2 separate regions of the Homo sapiens genome follow, and region 2 is linked to region 1. Evidence: promoter capture Hi-C in 16 types of primary human blood cells and fetal thymus (Javierre and others, 2016). All regions are on one chromosome and are shown on one strand. Each heading gives the region's core, a stretch centred on a gene start or on the middle of the fragment in contact. The rest is flanking DNA. Distances are from core to core; before and after follow the strand shown.

Region 1 (3,096 bases), core at 329-2,828:
AAGGCTTTCTAAACTCAACACCAAGTTTTTTCTTTTTTTAAAATAAAATGAGATGGGATCTCACTATGTTGCACAGCCTGGTCTCAAAACCCCTGGGTTCAAGTGATCCTCCCACCTTGGTGTCTCAAAGTGCTGGGATTACAGGTGTGAGCCACTGTGCCTGGCCCCAACACAAAGTTTTTGAGATATGTTGCTGCATATATCAGGTGTTGGATCTTTTCTATTGCTGTGTAGTATTCCATTGGCCGAACCAACCACTCTCTTTTGCCATTCACTTCTTTTTCTTTTTCCTTTTTTAAAATCATATATCCTACTCTCAGATCCATTTACTTTTTTTTAATTTTTAAATTTTTAAATTTTTTTTTTTGAGACAGGGTCTCACTCTGTTGCCCAGGCTGGAGTGCAGTGGCGTGATCTCAGCTCACTGCAACCTCCACCTCCTGGGCTCAAGTGATTCTCCTGCCCTACCCTTCCGAGTAGCTGGGACAGCAGGTGCACGCCACTGCACCTGGCTAATTTTTTTAAATTTATTATTTTTTTTTAATAGAGATGAGGTTTCGCCATGTTGCCCAGGCTGGTCTCAAACTCCTGATCTCAAGTGATCCACCCAGCTCGGCCTCCCAAATTGCTGGGATTACAGGCATGAGCCACCGCGCCCGGCCTCCATTTACTTCTTGATGGCTAGCTGCACTATTTCTCAGGTTGATCATATTAGGAAGCAAATCTATTATGTCCTCCAGCTCATTTAGACCCTCTTAAAGGTTCTCTACTATTCTCAAAATTAATCCAAATCTCTTGTCGGGGCCTCTGATGCCCTGAGTGTCTCGGCCTCTGCCTGACTCTTTCATCTCAGTTCCTGCCCTTCTCTCATGGACTTCTGAGCTCAGGAGCACTGCTCTCCTTTCCATGTTTGAATGGTCCATCCTACCTCCTACCTCCAGGTGCTCCCACGTGCTGTTCCCTCTGCTTGTAAAGGGCTGTGTCCCTCTCTTGACCTGCTCTAGCTGGCTACATCCTGCATGCCCTTGAGGTTGCATCTCAGATAACCTCAAGGAAGCCCTCACCGACCAGCCCCCACTTCTAGACTGCACATCTCCTTGTATCACTACACTTTTTCCTTCAGTGTCTTAGTCTCTTTGGTAAACACCAATTTGTACGATTATTTGATTAGCATCTGTCTCCCCCATCAGACTGTGAGCTCTGCCAGGACAGGCACTGGTTCTGTCTTCATCTCCAGCATTACCTAGACCAAAGCCGGGCACACTGTAGATGCTCATTTAACAGTTACCGAACACTGAATGTCGAGTAGCCCCAGCCTGTCTTTAAGCCCCACTACTCTCCCACTCCAAACACACACAGACTTTCTCCCGCGAGCTGTCAGGGAACCTCAGCTCCCACCCTTTCCCTCCTTGGCAACTTCACAGGGCAGGGACCGCTCTCCCTTGGATGACGCGCCTAGGGGCGGGGCCCCGCCCCACAGCCGACGCTGAGTTGGCCCGGTTGGGCAAGGCTGGGGTTGCCTGGGGCGAGGTTACTCATCCTGGGCTCAGGTAAGAGGGCCCGAGCTCGGAGGCGGCACATCCAGGGGGGACGCCAAGGGAGCAGGACGGAGCCATGGACCCCGCCAGGAAAGCAGGTGCCCAGGCCATGATCTGGACTGCAGGCTGGCTGCTGCTGCTGCTGCTTCGCGGAGGTGGGTCTGCTGCCCGGAGAGGTGGAGGGGGTAGAGTGGGGGCTCTTAGGGAGGAGGCTCCTCTGGCCCCGTACAGAGAAGGCTGTGGGAAGGATCCCCACATAAGCAGAGGGCACTGTGGGCAAAGTTCCCCCATCCTAAGCAAGGGAGGCAGAGGGAAGGGTCCTCCACCATGGGCCGTAGGAAGGGTTCCCCACCACGGACAAGGGGAGCTGTGGGCAAAATTTTCCTATCCTGAAGCTGCAGAAAGAAGTCCCCTGTTCCTAGGCCGGGCGCGGTGGTTCATGCCTGTAATCTCAGCACTTTGGGAGGCCGAGGCAGGCGGATCATGAGGTCAAACGATCGAGACCAGCCTGGCCAACATGGTGAAACCCTGTCTCTACTAAAAATACAAAAATTAGCTGGGCGCGGTAGCGCGAGCCTGTAGTCCCAGCTACTCGGGAGGCTGAGGCAGGAGAATCGTTTGAATCCAGGAGGGGAGGTTGCAGTGAGCCGAGATTGCGCCACTGCACTCCAGCCTGGCGACAGAGCGAGACTCCGTCTCAAAAAAAAAAAAAAGAAAAAAAGAAAAAAAGAAAAAAGTGTTCCCTGTCCTGGGCAGAGAAGCTGTGGGTAGTGTTCTCTCATTTGAGCAGAAGGGGGCTGTGGGAAGGGATCCCTCACTGAGCACAGTCTACTGTGGGAAAAGTTCTCCCACACACTGTGGGAAAAGTTCTCTCATTCTGAGCAGAAAACCGTGAGGAGGTATCCTTCCTACCCCGGGATGAGGGGCTTCATGGCGGGGATCGCCTACAGTGGGCATACAGGGCTGTCGGAAGGATGTGCCCACAGTTGGCATAGTGGGTGTGAAGGAAAAGGGTCCAGTGATTCCCGTGCTTCCAGATTTGTGGAAAGCTTTTCCCTACTCCTGCCCTGGAAAAGTGTGTGCAATAAGACTGTCTAATCCCGGGACAGAGGGCATGGGAAGGACTATTTCTCCTTGGGGGTGGACGCTTTAGCAAGGAGGGCTCAGGTCTATTCGGCTCCGCTCCCCCAGGAGCGCAGGCCCTGGAGTGCTACAGCTGCGTGCAGAAAGCAGATGACGGATGCTCCCCGAACAAGATGAAGACAGTGAAGTGCGCGCCGGGCGTGGACGTCTGCACCGAGGCCGTGGGGGCGGTGGAGACCAGTGAGTGGGGACCCCCGGGCCACGCACACCACTGCAGGCTCCTCCGGCCCAGCCCCGCCTCCTTATAGTCCTTTCTGGATCTGGCCACGCCCCTTTAACGCGGCCCCACCCCTCCCTTTCAGCCTGGCCGGGACCCTACGACACAGCCTTGCAGGCCAGGCCTTCTCTATTAACAATTACAAGCGCGAGGAGCAGAGAGTTGAGAACTGGGTGGGGCGGACGGGGAGAGCTCGGG
Region 2 (3,096 bases), core at 300-2,799, 89 kb before region 1:
CCAGCTACTCAGAGGCCAAGGTGGGAGAATCACTTGAGACCCAGAGGTCGAGGCTGCAGTGAGCTATGATCGCACCACTGTGCTCCAGCCTGGGTGACAGAGAAAGACCCTGTCTCTTAAAAAAATAATAATAATAAATAAAATCAAGTTATTTGCTATCTGGGATCAGCACCATGACAAACTACCAACATGAGTGCTGCCGGGTCAGTCAGGGTCCTTGCCCGGAGATTAAAACCACACCAGTTATTTTAACAGATAATTTGATAGAAAGAACCAGTAACTAGGTGTTACTAGAAGACTAAGATATGAGGGAGAAGCAACCGCAGGGAGTAGCTACCACTCCCAGGGTTGGGGGAACAAAAGAAAGGAGCAGGAATTATTGAAACGTAGATGTTTGGAAACTGGGAGGTGGGGCTCCAGGAGCTGAAATTCAGATCGTTTGAGGAGGGCTTCCTCCCCCACCGGCTGCTGAGAGGGGCTGAATGAGGCTGTTTCTGGAGGTATTGGGACACTGCAAACTGGATTCATCTGCTGCTGCAGGCAGGAACCACTGCAGCAGCAGAAGCTTAACTGGGGGTGATGCTCACAGGATCTGCAATGCACGAGAAGCTGGTCCTTCCTCCCTCCTGCAGCCTTGCAAACTCTCTCTCTTGCCCCCCCTATTGGCAGAGCCTGGTCACGATCAGCTAGGGAAGCAGAAAGGTGGTTTGCCAAGTGCGGGCCCAGATCACAGAGATGAGTTGTAGAGGGTAGGTTTGAGCTGAGAAACAATCACTTAATACTTAGTGCAGCTCGCCTGACTCTCTGGATTCTGTTTTCTCATTTCCAGCCTCTAGTAATTCCCCTTGCCTTTCCGCTGACTCACCTGTGCATTTCCAAAAGGTGTTTGAATATTGTGCCAGTTTACTGAATATTCTCTGCCGGGAAAGTTCCTTAGGACATGTAGCCCGCTGTATTGCCAGATATGGAAGACTCCATGGGAGAATTTAGATAAGGGTCGCTCACATCTGGAGGATAAAGAGATCCCTCTGGGGCCTGTGTCAGGGCAGGACTGACTCAAGGCCTAGAAACAAAGGGTCTGGAGACATCTAGGCCCAAGCTACATTCTAGTGACTCCCAGTCCCCTGTGTGGGCCCTGTGCCCTCTTCCCCAGCCCCTAGAAGCTCTCATCTAAGCCAACCTGCCCTGGTTCTCATGCACTGTGGCTTCTCCCACCCAGGTCCTTCTGGTCACCTCATCTTTCATGTCCCCTTCCGAGAGCCGCAGTGGCTCAAACCCCAACCGCGTTCGCATGTTTGGGCCTGACAAGCTGGTCCGGGCAGCCGCCGAGAAGCGCTGGGACCGGGTCAAAATTGTTTGCAGCCAGCCCTACAGCAAGGTACCTAGGGTGGGAGCCAGGGTGCAGAGTCCTTGGTCCTGGGCAAGGAGGGAAATAAGGGCCAATATTGAGTCCCATAGGGCTGGGAGGAGTAGACAGCTGGTGTCCCATGGGATTATGGGGAGGCTGGGTCCCTGCGTTCCCTGAAATGGGTTTGGGATCTTTCCTGTAATGAGAAGTTTCATCTCCCGGAGGAATCTAGGAAGGGTGAACTGCAGCATCTCAGAGGGGAATCGGAGGAGGGGAACTGACTTGTTAGAGAGGTGGCCTAGTAGAGTGGGCCTAGTAGTTAACATCAGGAGATCTGGCGTCTGATTACTGAGTTCACGTCCTGGCTATACCACTTTTTAGCTGTGTGATCTTGGGCAAGTGACTTACGCTCTCTGGGCCTCCATTGCCTGATCCTTACAGGGTTGCTGTAGGTTAAGGGATGCTAAAAGCTGTGGTAACAGTGAGACTGGAGTATGTGATGATGCCACACACTAAAGGTGTGCTTCTTGCCCAGGTAACTGTCCTGGGGAGTGTTTAGCCTGTCAGCTGGCTTCTCCTTATGAGGTCGTGCAGGGACCCAGACTTCTCCTATTTTCTGGCTCTGCATCCAGCTGGCAGAGGAGAGAGCCTGGAACACTTCTGTGTTCTGGAAGTGGCACGCAGCACTCCCTCCCATTCCACAGGCAGGAGTTTGTGCATAGGGCAGTGAATTCGCTGGGACACCTAGTAGACTCTGCCAATTGCCCAAAGAGCTAATGCGTGAAAAGGGCTTGGAGCCAGACTCAGAGTTAGGGCTCAGTCATAACAGCTTAATCCTATAATTGTCATCACCATCGCCAGGGCCCCTCCTTCAACATGGGTGTTCATGAGAGGGAAGGAGCCAGGAAGAGGTTTCCCTGAGTGAAAAGGGTCTTGGGCCCTGGCCTCTGTCCTTGGGCCAGACTCCCTGACTCCCACCCCTCCTTTCCCAGGACTCCCCCTTTGGCTTGAGTTTTGTACGGTTTCATAGCCCCCCAGACAAAGATGAGGCAGAGGCCCCGTCCCAGGTAAGCTGTACCTGTCACTCCCCATGGCCTTCTCCCTGCCTCTCCACCCCCACCTGCCAGCAGCCCACCTATAATACTGACCTTGCGGGACCTTAGAAGGTGACAGTGACCAAGCTTGGCCAGTTCCGTGTGAAGGAGGAGGATGAGAGCGCCAACTCTCTGAGGCCGGGGGCTCTCTTCTTCAGCCGGATCAACAAGACATCCCCAGGTGAGCTCGGACAACGTGGGTCCTGAGTGAGTAGGGTTGAGACCTAGACTCGTGGGTCTGAGGGTAGAGGGGGCTGGGGCTCAGATTCCTGGGTCTGAGGGAGGAGGGTAGTGGAGTCCTGGACTCCTGGGTCTCAGGGTGGAGGAAGGTGGGCCTGGCCTCTTGTGTCCTGAGGGTTGAGAGGTCTGGAGGCTGGGACTCCTGGATCACTGGTGGGTTTTGGCAACAATATTCTGTGTCCCATAGATAGGAGTGAAAGGGTCTTGGGGCTCAGCCCTCTCATCCTGGATCCACTTTCTCCCTTCATAGTCACAGCCAGCGACCCAGCAGGACCTAGCTATGCAGCTGCTACCCTCCAGGCTTCTAGTGCTGCCTCCTCAGCCTCTCCAGTCTCCAGGGCCATAGGCAGCACCTCCAAGGTGAAATCATCAGACTTTGGTGGGGTGGAGGAGGAGAGAAGCTGGAGGCCTCAA

The links. The method cuts DNA at HindIII sites, captures the fragments that hold promoters and counts their contacts. A CHiCAGO score of 5 or more calls a contact.
Region 2: a contact is called between a fragment that was not itself captured here and the fragment with the promoter of LYPD3 in region 1, in 5 of 17 cell types (naive CD4 T cells, total CD8 T cells, fetal thymus and 2 more). The highest score is 7.7, in naive CD4 T cells.

The regions. Positions count from the first base shown.
Region 1 is chr19:43,464,090-43,467,185 of GRCh38, reverse strand. It overlaps LYPD3 (LY6/PLAUR domain containing 3), which reads left to right and starts at 1,578. Exons shown (of 5, transcript NM_014400.3): 1 at 1,578-1,693; 2 at 2,730-2,861. The coding sequence starts at 1,615. RefSeq lists an enhancer at 2,826-3,096. The HindIII fragment of the contact is 14,493 bases long and covers 1-2,589 here.
Region 2 is chr19:43,552,928-43,556,023 of GRCh38, reverse strand. It overlaps XRCC1 (X-ray repair cross complementing 1), which reads left to right. Exons shown (of 17, transcript NM_006297.3): 4 at 1,220-1,378; 5 at 2,341-2,415; 6 at 2,512-2,623; 7 at 2,933-3,042. Among named protein-coding and RNA genes, the nearest start is that of XRCC1, 21 kb to the left of the region's middle. The HindIII fragment of the contact is 1,964 bases long and covers 568-2,531 here.